4 separate regions of the Homo sapiens genome follow, and regions 2, 3 and 4 are each linked to region 1. Evidence: promoter capture Hi-C in 16 types of primary human blood cells and fetal thymus (Javierre and others, 2016). All regions are on one chromosome and are shown on one strand. Each heading gives the region's core, a stretch centred on a gene start or on the middle of the fragment in contact. The rest is flanking DNA. Distances are from core to core; before and after follow the strand shown. Region 1 holds the start of ZNF559 (zinc finger protein 559). Region 2 has its middle 11 kb from the start of FBXL12. Region 3 holds the start of ZNF846 (zinc finger protein 846). Region 4 has its middle 7.1 kb from the start of ZNF562.

Region 1 (3,005 bases), core at 143-2,642:
GTCCCCGGCTTCATTCTTGGAGTCGGTGAGACCAAGAACCCACCAATTCCGGACACATTAGTACAGGTCTTTGAATAAATTTTGCTTCTAACAGAAGTTACTATTTATTCCTAATTAGATGGGCAGGAAAGTCTTTGAAGAGGAACCTCTACTTTACTTTTTACTGTAGAGAGAGTAGTCTTTGATCTTGGGGAGATGGGGTTTTTCCTTTTGGTTTAGCTTCAGGAAGTTTGTGTTAATTGGCCTTAGGTGCCCTGCCCCCAGCCCCAGGTGTTTTTCCTTTGATTTAACTTTAGGAAATTATCACGAATTGGCCTTAGATTCCCCGACCCCAGATCTTGGTGTTTTCACTTTTAGGAAGTCCGCATGAATCTTATCTATGCTCTTAACTACGTCCTAATTTTTGTGTTTTTTGTCTTTTTTATAGGAATAGGGTTTTGCCATATTGCCCAGGCTGGTCTCGAACTCCTGAGCTCAAGTGGTCTGCCTGCCTCAGCCTCCCAAAGTGCTGGGATCACTGGCGTGAGCCATCAGGCCCAGCCTCTATGTGCTAATTTTTGAACAAATTCCAATAGGAGCATTCTAGTCTCTGAGTGTGAGATGACCAAAAATCAAGCCCTTGTGAGGCTGAATAGAGTCGGGAGGCAGGGAACTTAAGGCTGTTTCAGGCCGACTTCCTAGAACTAAATTGAAAGGAAAACCCTCACTTTCCTCGCCTAAATAACAAAAGGACCAGAGGCTACTCCCTTTGACCTTTTCTGCTGGCAGATAGGAAATTGGCTGTCTGCAACAAATCAGACTGATGGCCGGTTGAGTCTTCATTTGCATAGAAGTGTAACTTTGTAACGTCGTAACTTCACCCTAGCCTTTGATTGGTTGCTTTTTGCAACCAATCAGATGTTTGCACAGGAGTGTGACCTTTGTAACTTCAGACTCTGGTTGGCTGCTTTCTGCAACCAATCAGACTGAACGCGGGCTACCGCTTCATTTACAGGAGGTGAGCATGAAGTGGCCAATGGGAAAATTCTAGGAGGTATTGGGACTCATGAAGGTTCTGTTTCGGAGCCCTTGAGCTGCCGCTTGGCCAGTTCCCACACTGTGGAGTATGCTTTCGTTTTCAACAAATCCCAGCTCTTGTTCTTTTGTTGCTTCATTCTTTCTTTGCTTTGCTGGGCGTTTTGTCTAATTCTTTGTTCAAAACGCCAGTAACCTGGACAGCTTGCAGTCAAGACCCCCTACCGGTGACACTTGCGCTCTTCGGGGAGGTAAACAGCATTTCCTCTCAGCTCTGGGTTGGAAAAAGCCGCAGCAGCTGATGGGCCCGGGAACCCGAGGCCCCGCCCCCTAGGTGGTCCTAGCCTTTGCGCGTGCGCGGCGTGTCTGCGTGGGCGCATGCGCATAACGGCCGCCATCTTAACAGCGCGTTCCCGTTGGCGTCTGAGGTAAGTTTTTGTTTCTGGGCGGCGTTCGGTGGTGTCCCGGTGCAGCCACGCGAGAGTAGAAGGGTGGAAAGGGGAGGTGCCCAGTGAAATGGAGCCTGTCCCGTGCACTTTCGGGCATTTCGAGCATCTTGTGGGCTCTCCCAAGTCGCGGCCCCTCCTCTGAGAGCCACAGTCAGGTCTGTCCTCAGGGGTCGAGGCGGCTGCGCTGGGGCCTCGGCCCGGGAGGAGGCGGGGGGCACGGCCTTTCCATTTTCCCTGCTCCCCTCTGCAGAAGCCTCATAGGGCCCGGCGCGGCGGCTCACGCCTGTCATTCCCAGCGCTTTGGGCGGATTGGGTAGGAGGATTACTTGAGGCCAGGAGTTCAAGACCAGGCAGGGCAACATAGGGAGACCCCCCCCCCCAACCATCTCTAATGGAAAAAAAAAAAAAAGTCTCCACATCCAGCGTTGTGCCTTTTCTCTATAAGGAACAGCATCTCTGCCTTCCTGTTCACGGTGACCTTCGCTTGGTGTCCTCCTGGCCTCAGCAACCTGACAATTCTGTCGTGTCCCGGTGAGCACTTCATGCACTTGTTCTGGCTGTGGGTGTCGGGTCTTGAAGTTTAAGTTGTGTCGAGGTGGAAAGAAACCTTTTCAGGTGGTTGTTCGAGAGCACATGGATCTGATACCATCGAATGCATGAGTGGATGAATGCACATAACTGTAAAATTTACCACCAAGGAAAAACACAGGACTACTCAACTGTGGTTCCAGGCCATCACCTAGATCTCACTCTAGCGCCCTGTAGATTCCCCCAGAGGTTCAAAACGAGGGCATCCCCAGGAACACGGTGCGGGCTGATTTACTAGCAGGAGGGATTGAATTGATAATGAATGCGAAGATAACTTTTGACAGGTGGGTTTTCTACCAGTTACTCATTTGAAAGTCTTACTGAGGGCGGGGCAAGGTGGCTCACACCTGTAATCCCAGCGTTTTGGGAGGCTGAGGCTGGAGGATCGCTTGAGCCCAGGAATTTGATGCCAACCTGGAAAAAATAGGGCAAGCCTCTGTCTCTACTAAAAATAAAAAATTAGCTGGGCATGGTGGTGTCTGTGGTCCCATCCACTTTGGAGGCCGAGATGCGAGGATCACTTGAGCATGGGAGGTCGAGGCTGCTGTGAGCCATTATTGTGTCACTGCATTCCAGCTTAGGCAACAGAGTGAGACCCTGTTTCAAAAAGAAGAAAAAAAAACAAATACTGATCTAGAGAACATCTGTAGCTCGAGTAAAACAAATGTCTTTAGTCCAGGTGTGGTGGCTCACGCCTGTAATCCCAGCATGTTGGGAGGCTGAGGCTGGCGGATCACGAGGTCAGGAGTTTGAGACCAGCCTGGCCAACATAGTGAAACCCCGTCTTTACTCAAAATACAAAAAATTAGCCGGGCGTGGGCACCTGTAATCCCAGCTACTCAGGAGCCTGAGGCAGGAGAATCGCTTGAACCTGGGAGGCAGAGGTTGCAGTGAGCCAAGATTGCACCCTTGCATTCCAGCCTGGGCAACAGTGCGAGACTCCGTCTCCAAAAA
Region 2 (3,005 bases), core at 341-2,840, 480 kb after region 1:
CACCACTGCACTCCAGCTTGGGTGATGGAGTAAGACCATGTCTCAAAATAAATAAATAAAAATAAAATAATAATGTCAGCTATTGTGATTATGCTTTGCCTTCATTGGAGGGCAGTCCTGAAGCCCCCAGCCCCTTATCTGGGAGAAGGCAATGATTAGGGGTGGGGAGGTTCCAAAAGGGGAGAAGCTCTGTCTGATGTCCCATCACCCCATCACCCCTTGGGGCAAGGCCCATGTTAGAGGTCACTAAGGCAGAATGAATTCTCCATAGGGTAAGCCCAGGAAGAAGACACCTGTAACCAGTGGTATGCCACAGCTCAGGAGAGCCAAATGCTGAATCTTCAACTATTTTGTGAGCCAGTTGTTAAACTGTTGGTAGCTTGAAACCAGCTGTGGTGAGACAGTGTTTACACCATAGTAATCTGCAAATGCTACAGATCAGGGCCTTCTTCCCCCACCTGCTAGCACTGCCTGTAAACACTTACCTGCTTCAAAATTAATGCCTGCTGGCCAGTTGCAGCGGCTCACACCTGTAATCCCAGCACTTTGGGACGCTAAAGCAGGCGGATCACTTAAGGCCAGGAGTTTGAGACCAGCCTGGCCAACATGGTGAAACCCCATCTCCTAAAAATATAAAAATTGGCTGGGTGTGGTGGCATGTGCCTGTAATCCCAGGTACTCAGGAGGCTGAGGCAGGCTGCAGCATAAACCTTGGAGGCAGAGGTTGCAGTGAGCTGAGATCGCACCATTGCACTCCAGCTTAGGTGACAGAGTGAGACTAGCATCTCCAAAAAACAAACAAAAAAACTAAAACGAATGCCTGCTGCTCCCTCCCTTCCAACTGGAAAGGCAGAGAGGAAAAAGAAAGGAAGCTTTTTTGCCCTAGAGTTGTTCCAGGTTGGGGCATCGGCAATGCACTTCCAGAACCACCTGCAGAGTCCAGCACAGGGCTGGTGTTGAGTCACCCTCATGTTCTCCCAAACTGACCCCAGCTCTCCAGACACTCTCTGCAAGCAAAACAAACCTCATTTCCCTCCTTGTTCCCACAGGCTCTGAGACTTCACCAATCTCTGTTTCTACCTGGTTCAACCCAGCCCCCTGATGTCCTGGGCTGGAGCTGCTGGGGTGGTCACAGCATTGGACAATCAGACCTTGACTAGGGCCACATCAGGGGCACACTCATAGCCTAGTCCTCATGTGGCCAGATGGAGAAGGAATTTCAGGTGAGGTGGCTCATGCCTGTAATCCCAGTATTTTGGGAGGCCAAGGCAGGAGGATCATTTGCACTCAGGAGTTAGAGACCAGCCTGGGCAACACAGTGAGACCCCCATCTCTACAAAAAATAAAAAGTAGCTAGGTGTGGTGGCACATTCCTGTGGTCCCAGCTACTTGGGAGGCTGAAGTAGGATGGCTTGAGCCCAGGAGTTCGAGACCAGTCTTGGCAACATAGGGAGACTCCTGTCTCTGTCTGTCTACCTGTCTGTCTATCTATCTATCTATATTTATTTTTGAAACAGAGTCTCTCTCTGTTGCCCAGGCTGGAGTACAGTGGCACAATCTCGGCTCTCTGCAACCTCCTATCTATCTATCTATATTTATTTTTGAAACAGAGTCTCTCTCTGTTGCCCAGACTGGAGTGCAGTGGTACAATCTCGGCTCTCTGCAACCTCCCACTCCAGGGTTCAAGCGATTCTCCTGCCTCAGCCTCCTGAGTAGCTGGGATTATAGGCATGTGCCACCAAGTCCAGCTAATCTTTGTATTTTTAGTAGAGACGGGGTTTCACCATGTTGGCCAGGCTGGTCTCGAACTCCTGACCTCAGATGATCCTCCCGCCTTGGTGTCCCAAAGTGCTGGGATTACAGGCATGGGACACACCGTGCCTGGCCCCATCTCTATTTAAAAAAAAAAAAAAAAAAAAAAAAAAGGTTGGGCGCAGTGGCTCACACCTGTAATCCCAGCACTTTGGGAGGCCAAGGTGGGCAGATCACAAGGTCAGGAGTTTGAGACCAGCCTGACCAATATGGTGAAACTCCAACTCTACTAAAAATACAAAAATTAGCCAGGCATGGTGGCACACGCCTGTATTCCCAGCTACTTAGGAGGCTGAGGCAGGAGAATCATTTGATCCTGGGAGGCAGAGGTTGCAGTGAGCTAAGATTGCACCACTGCACCACTCCAGCCTGGGCAACAGATCAAGACTCCGTTTCAAAAAAAAAAAAAAAAGAGAGACAGAAAGAGAAGGAATTTCTACTGCAACTCTGAGTGGGAAGAGCATGGGAGGAACATCTCTGGCTCTTCTCTGATGGGTAAGCTTGGAATAAGAAACCAAGTGTACCCAGCTCAGCTCTCTTCTCCAACCTGGCTCTAAGCACCAGAGGAGGCACCTGGGCCTGCTGAGCAGGTGGTGAACCCACAGAGCCGGGGCTTAGCCACACACAGCAACGCTCATCTCACGGGTAGGCACTCACACTTATAATCTGACACCTGCATCTTTCAAGTGGTTCAGACTCGAAAGGCAGGAAAAGGTGGTGTTACTTACTGAACCCCTAAAGCCTGAGCCACCTGCAAGGCCCTGCCCACTCCTGTCCCCATTATCTCCTTTTGTTTTATTTTTTTTTTTTTTGAGACAGGGTCTCACTCTGTCACCCAGTCTGGAGTGCAGTGGTGATCACAGTTCACTGCAACCTCCGAGTCCCAGGCTTAAGCAATCCTCCCACCTCAGCCTCCTGAATAGCTGGGATACCAGCTGGGTAGATGCACACCACCACACCTGGCTAATTTTTTCTGTAGAGACAGGGTTTCACCATGTTGCCCAAGCTGGTCTCAAACTCCTGAACTCAAAGTGATTCACTTGCCTCAGATGTCCCAGGTTGGCCTTAAACTCCTGGGCTCAAGTGATCCACCCACCTCAGCCTCCCAAAGTGCTGGGTTTACACATGTGAGCCACCATGCCCGGCCCTGACCTCAACTTCGACAGCTCTTACCCCTGCTCACTCTGCCACAC
Region 3 (3,005 bases), core at 205-2,704, 440 kb after region 1:
CCCCACCACACCTGGCTAATTTTGTATTTTTAGTAGAGACAGGGTTTCTCCATGTTGGTCGGGCTGGTCTGGAACTCCCAACCTCAGGTGAACCGCCCACCTCGGCCTCCCAAAGTGCCAGGATTACAGGTGTTTAAGTTACCGCACCCGGCCAATACACATTGATCTACACAAGAGATGCAAAGAAACAGAAAACATGCAAAATATTAACAAATGATCAGTCTACAACAAGGATATATAATAGGTGTTCAATATTCTGGCCTTTCACATTTTCTTTGGTTTAGAATATTCAATCTACAGATAGCCTGGGCAACAAACCAAGACCCTGTCTTTAAAACGTAAATAAATAAATAAAAATATATGAGGGGGAAGGCCAGGCGCGGTGGCTTATACCTGTAATTCCAGCACTTTGGGAGTCCGAGGAGGGTGGATCACGAGGTCAGGAGTTCGAGACCAGCCCAACCAACATGGTGAAACCCCGTCTCTACTAAAAATGCAAAATTAGCCGGGCGTGGTGGCACATGCCTGTAATCCCAGTTACTCAGCATGCTGAGGCAGGAGAATCGCTTGGACCGGGAGACAGAGTTTACAGTGAGCCTATATCACGCCATTGCACTCCAGCCTGGGCAATAAGAGCGAAACTCCGTCTCAAAATATGTATATATACGAGAGGAAAAACGCTGAATCAAAACATGTCTCTTTCACAGTTAATACAACTGTAATTTCTGATACTGGTATAATGAAGGCGGCATCCTACTTCCTGGAAGCCCCTCCGTTTTGAAGCTCTTTGGGAGGTACTGACCTAGGAAGTTCAGCTGCTTTTGATCTCAAAAACACAGCGGAGTATTGCTACTTTGCTTTATAACTGTGGCAATATTTGCTTTTATTTCTATAAACCTACAACTCCTGCACACTTGACAAAGCATTTAACTGCTGAGCAATTTCGCAAACTTCAATAAGCGATGCCCTCCCACAGCCAGATCATCTCCTCCGTCCAGGGCTCACCGGAACGCACTGCAATCGCCCTGTCGGTGACAAGAGGACGCTGGGGCCCTTTTCCACAACAGCTGAGATGCTTTTCCTTCTGGAGAAAGGACACAAAGGTTGACTGGCTGCTTTTAAACAGAGGGGCACGGTGGTTGGAGAAAAAAACACGTCTCCACCGGGGACCCTGGGCCAGGCCCAGACTGATGCGGGCGCAGCGGGAAGAGGCGCTCAGAAGAGAAGGCGGGAACCCCCCGCCTCGGGGTCCTGGCGGGGAGGAGGCGCCGCTTCTCCGGAGCAGCAGCGGGAGGCCGGCGCGTCTCAGACCTAGCAGAAGTCCGGAGCGTCACCCTCCGACCCTCGCTCCGCCTCCCGCTAGGCCCTCCTGCCCCGCCCTGCCTAGGTTGAGCATGAGCGCTGGCTGAGGTGAAAACCCAGCTAGGAAGCTGCTGGAGAGCGGGGAATACGTATAGCTGCGCGCCGGCTGGCACTTCCGCTTCCGGTTGCGCACGGCATTAAGTGTAGGGGCCGAGCCCCAAGAGCTTTGGAATGAGGATGATGTGAAGCTGAGAGAAGAGCTGGGGCCACCTCTTCGACACGCGTACAGAAAAGTCCCGTTTTCTCGCATCCCAGGTGGACCAGGATCCAGATCAATCTGTCGATATTGGGAACGACGCCGGACCAGGAAACCCAGCGCCAAGGGCCGGGTTGGAGGCGGGGACTGGCGCAGCGGGCGGGGCACGCGTGGAGGCGTCACCTAAGGCTTCGATTGCAGACAGCGGGATGCTCATCGAGTGCTTTTCTTTTCTTTTTTAATTTCTCTTTTTAGTTTTTTGAGATAAGGCTCCGGTCTGTCGCCTAGGCTGGAGTGCAGTGGCTCGGTCATAGATCATTGCAGCCTGGAATTCCTGCGCTGAAGCTATCCTCCCGCCTCGGCCTCCGGAGTAGCTTGGACCACAGTTGGGCCCATCACGCCCAGCTAAGTTATCTTTTTCTAGACACTTGGGTCTCACTGTGTTCCCTAGGCTGGTCTCGAACTCCTGAGCCTAAAGGATCCTCCCCCCTCGGCCTCCCAAGCAGCTTGGACCACAGGTGTGTGCCACCACGCCTGGCTAATTTATTTTTATTTTATTTTTATTTTTTTGTAGAGACAGGGTCTCTCTTTGTTACCCAGGCTGATCTGGAACTCCTGGGCTCCAGTGATCCTTCCACCTTGGCCTCCCAAAGTGCTGGGATTATAGGCGTGAGCCACCACCCTAGGGAAATTCTTTTCTGCAGGATTTTCTCCTTGTTTCTTCAACCCTCTGCAGGGATATAAACATATTTACAAAGATAATCCCGCTGTAGTCCTAGCTACTGCGGGAGAATCGCTTGAGCCCAGGAGTTCGAGACCAGCGACACCCTGTTTGAAAGATTAACCTGATGGGGCTGGGGGCAGTGGCTCACGCCTGTAATCCCAGCACTTTGGGAAGCCGAGGCGGGTGGAACACGTGAGTTCAGGAGTTCGAGACCAGCCTGGCCAACATGCCGAAACCCCATCTCTACTAAAAATATTTTTTAAAAAATAGCCGGGTGTGGTGGTGGGCGCCTGTAATCCCAGCTACTCGAGAGGCTGAGGCAGGAGAATTGCTTGAACCTAGGAGACTGAGGTTGCAGTGAGCTGATACGATGCCACAGTACTCCAGCCTGGGCGACAGAGTGAGACTCCGTCTCAAAAAAAAAAAAAAAAAGATTAACCTGTTAATCCATAAAATGCTCTGTGCCTCTGATACATTCAGTTCCTTCTTTAGGCCTTTAGTTTTGTTGTGATACAATTATCATAGCATACAATTAACCTGTTTAAAGTGTACAGTTTCGTGGCTTTTTGTATATTCATATATTTGTGCATCGATCATCACAATCAATTTTAGAACATTTTCATGACCACAAAAATAAACCCAGTACCCTAGCCATGATCACCCAATCTGCTCATCCAGCCCCACCCCCACCCCCAGAGTCCAAAGCAACAGCTAATCTTTCTG
Region 4 (3,005 bases), core at 190-2,689, 360 kb after region 1:
TGCTATGTCCACTCAGGGTTAAATGGATTAAGGGCGGTGCAAGATATGCTTTGTTAAACAGATGCTTGAAGGCAGCATGCTCGTTAAGAGTCATCACCACTCCCTAATCTCAAGTACCCAGGGACACAAACACTGCGGAAGGCCGCAGGGTCCTCTGCCTAGGAAAACCAGAGACCTTTGTTCACTTGTTTATCTGCTGACCTTCCCTCTACTATTGTCCTATGACCCTGCCAAATCCCCCTCTGCGAGAAACACCCAAGAATGATCAATTAAAAAAAAAAAATAGCCAGGTGTGGTGGCAGGTGCCTGTAATCCCAGCTACTCGGGAGGCTGAGGCAGGAGAATCGCTTCAACCCAGGAAGCAGAGGTTGCAGTGAGCCGAGATCGTGCCAATGCACTCTAGCTTGGGCAATAAAAGCAAAACTCCATGTCAAAAAAAAAAAAAAAGTGGTGTTTCAGATCGATAGGGAAAAAATGCCATTTGTAATGGAAAGTCTAAGACAGTTGGTTAGCTATCAGAGAAAAGATGAAATTAAATCTATACTTCATATCATATACAATATACTCCAAATGGACTAGTAATCTAAGTGTGAAAAATAAAACCATACACGCATGTAAGGTGTTCAAGTGATTTCTTGGCTGAGTAAGGAAAAAGATGTAACTACAAGGCGGCAATAGCATACAAGCTTCATTTGGGATGTGCTTTCACAGGTTAGCAGTTGCGGAGGTAGGAAACAGCAAGAGAGTATCCACAGGCTTCTACCTGTGGGTCACTTCTCAGAAAGCGTGGAAAGGAAGAGAGACTCCCAGAGGAGAAAGGGAATCAAAGAGGGGGCTTATAAATAACTAAATGATGATACTCACCAAACTGACAGCATATCTTCCAGTTAAAAAGCTCTGAAGGGCCGGGCAAGAAGGCTCATGCCTATAATCCCAGCACTTTGGGAGGCCAGTGGGGCGGATCACGAGGACAGGTGTTCAAGACCAGCCTGACCAACATGGTGAAACCCCATCTCTACTAAAAATACAAAAATTAGCCGGGCGTGGTGGCGTGCACCTGTAATCCCAGCTACTCAGGAGGCTGAGGCAGGAGAAACACTCGAAGCCGGGAGGTGGAAGTTGCAGTGAGCCGAGATCTTGCCACTGCACTCCAGTCTGGACAACAGAGTGAGACTCCATCTCAAAAGAAAAAAAAAAAAAAAGGTTCTGCAGGACAGCAGGGGGATGGGATTTTCATAGCCTCTGGAGTTATCTTATCTATGGCTATCAGATATTGCACATAATTTCAGAGAATACAAAGAAGGCACACTCGAGATGGCTAAAAATAGGCTTGTTCATGCTATGTTTCAAACAATCAAGTGTGTTAAAATTGCAGTTTGGCAGGGATTGGCTATTGTGAATACTAGTGAGATAAACATTGGTGTACAAATATTTCTTTGAGCACCTGCTCTCAACACTTTTGGATATATATGCCAAAGTGGAATGTCTGGATCATATGGTAATTCTGTTTAATCTTGTTTGTTTGTTTGAGATAGGGTCTCACTCTGTTGTCTAGGCTGGAATGCAGTGACATGATCATGGATTACTGCAGTCCTCAACCTACTGAGCTCAGGTAATCATCCCACCTTAGCCTCTCGAGTAGCAGGGATTACAAGTGCATGCCACCACCATGCCTGGCTGAATTAAAAAATCTTTTTTGTAAAAATGAAATCTCACAATATGCCCAGGCTGGTCTTGAACTCTTAGTCTCAAGAAATCCCTCACCCTGAGCCTCCCAAAGTGCTGGGATTACAGGTGTGAGCCATCACATCCAGCATGGTTTTGATTTTCATTTTCATGATGTTTAGTGATGTTAAGCATCTTTTCATGAGCATCTTTTCCTGTGTTTATTGGCCATCTGTGTATCTTCTTTGGTGATATTATTCAAGTCCTTTTTCTGTATTTGAATTGGGTTTTGTTGTTGTTACTCTCGGGTTCTAGAAATTTTAAAAATAAACTCCAGATATTTGTCCCCAGTCGGATACAGGACTTGAAAATATTTTCTCCCATTTGTAGATTGTCTTTTCATTCTCTTGTTATTATGCTTTGATGCAAAAAATTTGTATTATTGATTAGGTTCAACTCATAATTTTTCTTGTGTTGCCTGTGTGGTTGATGACATAACTAAGAAGTCATTTCCAATTCCAATATCATGAAGCTTTCTCACCTATGTTTTCTTCTAATAGGTTTTCAGCTCTAGCTCTTACACTACACTTAGGTTTTTGATCCATTTTTTAAAAATCATGCCACATTATTATTATTATTAAGATGGAGGCTTGCTGTCTCCCAGGCTGGAGTGCAGTGGTGCGATCTCAGCTCACTGCAACCTCTACCTCCCAGGTTCAAGTGATTCTCCTGCCATTGCTTCCTGAGTAGCTGGGATTACAGGTGCATGCCACCATGCCCGGCTACTTTTTGTATTTCTTTTTAGTAAAGACAGGGCTTCACCATGTTGGTCAAGCTGATCTCGAACACCTGACCTCGTGATCCACCCACCTCGGCCTTCCAAAGTGCTGGGATTAGAGGCGTGAGCCACTGTGCCCGGCCATGCCACATTATTTTTAATTATGTACAAAGATCTAAAATGTCACTCAGGGACCATTTCATCCACCACTCTGTTTGGCCACCAGTCTTTTGTCTGTCTCTTCTGCAATAGTGAGGCGGATACCCTTTCCTCGGGGAAGAGAAATCCATGGTCTGTTGCCCTTGCCAATAACAAAAATGTTGGAAAATCTAGTGGCAAATCTGTTGCCTTTGGCATCCTTCACGTAAACCACTTTGAAAGATCGAGGGTGCCGCTCTCTGTTGATCACACCAATTCTTCCCAGGTTAGCACTTCCAGTCACCATACACAGGTTCCAGTGTCAATCTTGATGAAATCAGTAATCTTGCCAGTCTCTAAATCAATCTGAATGGTATCATTCACCTTGATAAGGGGATCAGGGTAGCAGATGGCGTGAGTATCA

What was found. The method cuts DNA at HindIII sites, captures the fragments that hold promoters and counts their contacts. A CHiCAGO score of 5 or more calls a contact.
Region 2: a contact is called between a fragment that was not itself captured here and the fragment with the promoter of ZNF559 in region 1, in 2 of 17 cell types (non-activated CD4 T cells and naive CD4 T cells). The highest score is 5.5, in non-activated CD4 T cells.
Region 3: the fragment with the promoter of ZNF846 here is called in contact with the fragment with the promoter of ZNF559 in region 1 in 12 of 17 cell types (total CD8 T cells, non-activated CD4 T cells, neutrophils and 9 more); the score reaches 13.6 in total CD8 T cells.
Region 4: a fragment that was not itself captured here is called in contact with the fragment with the promoter of ZNF559 in region 1 in 2 of 17 cell types (activated CD4 T cells and monocytes); the score reaches 6.1 in activated CD4 T cells.

What each region holds. Positions count from the first base shown.
Region 1 is chr19:9,322,787-9,325,791 of GRCh38, forward strand. It overlaps ZNF559 (zinc finger protein 559), which reads left to right and starts at 1,393. Exons shown (of 7, transcript NM_032497.3): 1 at 1,393-1,442; 2 at 1,909-1,994. It overlaps ZNF559-ZNF177 (ZNF559-ZNF177 readthrough), which reads left to right and starts at 1,393. Exons shown (of 13, transcript NM_001384659.1): 1 at 1,393-1,442; 2 at 1,909-1,994. RefSeq lists an enhancer at 1,237-1,486 and a silencer at 1,657-1,796. The HindIII fragment of the contact is 3,488 bases long and covers 1-3,005 here.
Region 2 is chr19:9,806,582-9,809,586 of GRCh38, forward strand. No RefSeq gene overlaps it. Among named protein-coding and RNA genes, the nearest start is that of FBXL12, 11 kb to the right of the region's middle. The HindIII fragment of the contact is 1,440 bases long and covers 871-2,310 here.
Region 3 is chr19:9,767,284-9,770,288 of GRCh38, forward strand. It overlaps ZNF846 (zinc finger protein 846), which reads right to left and starts at 1,455. Exons shown (of 6, transcript NM_001077624.3): 1 at 1,006-1,455. RefSeq lists a silencer at 1,270-1,439 and enhancers at 1,383-2,248, 1,520-1,739. The HindIII fragment of the contact is 9,482 bases long and covers 1-3,005 here.
Region 4 is chr19:9,680,652-9,683,656 of GRCh38, forward strand. It overlaps the pseudogene RPS4XP22. Among named protein-coding and RNA genes, the nearest start is that of ZNF562, 7.1 kb to the left of the region's middle. RefSeq lists an enhancer at 1-358. The HindIII fragment of the contact is 1,511 bases long and covers 685-2,195 here.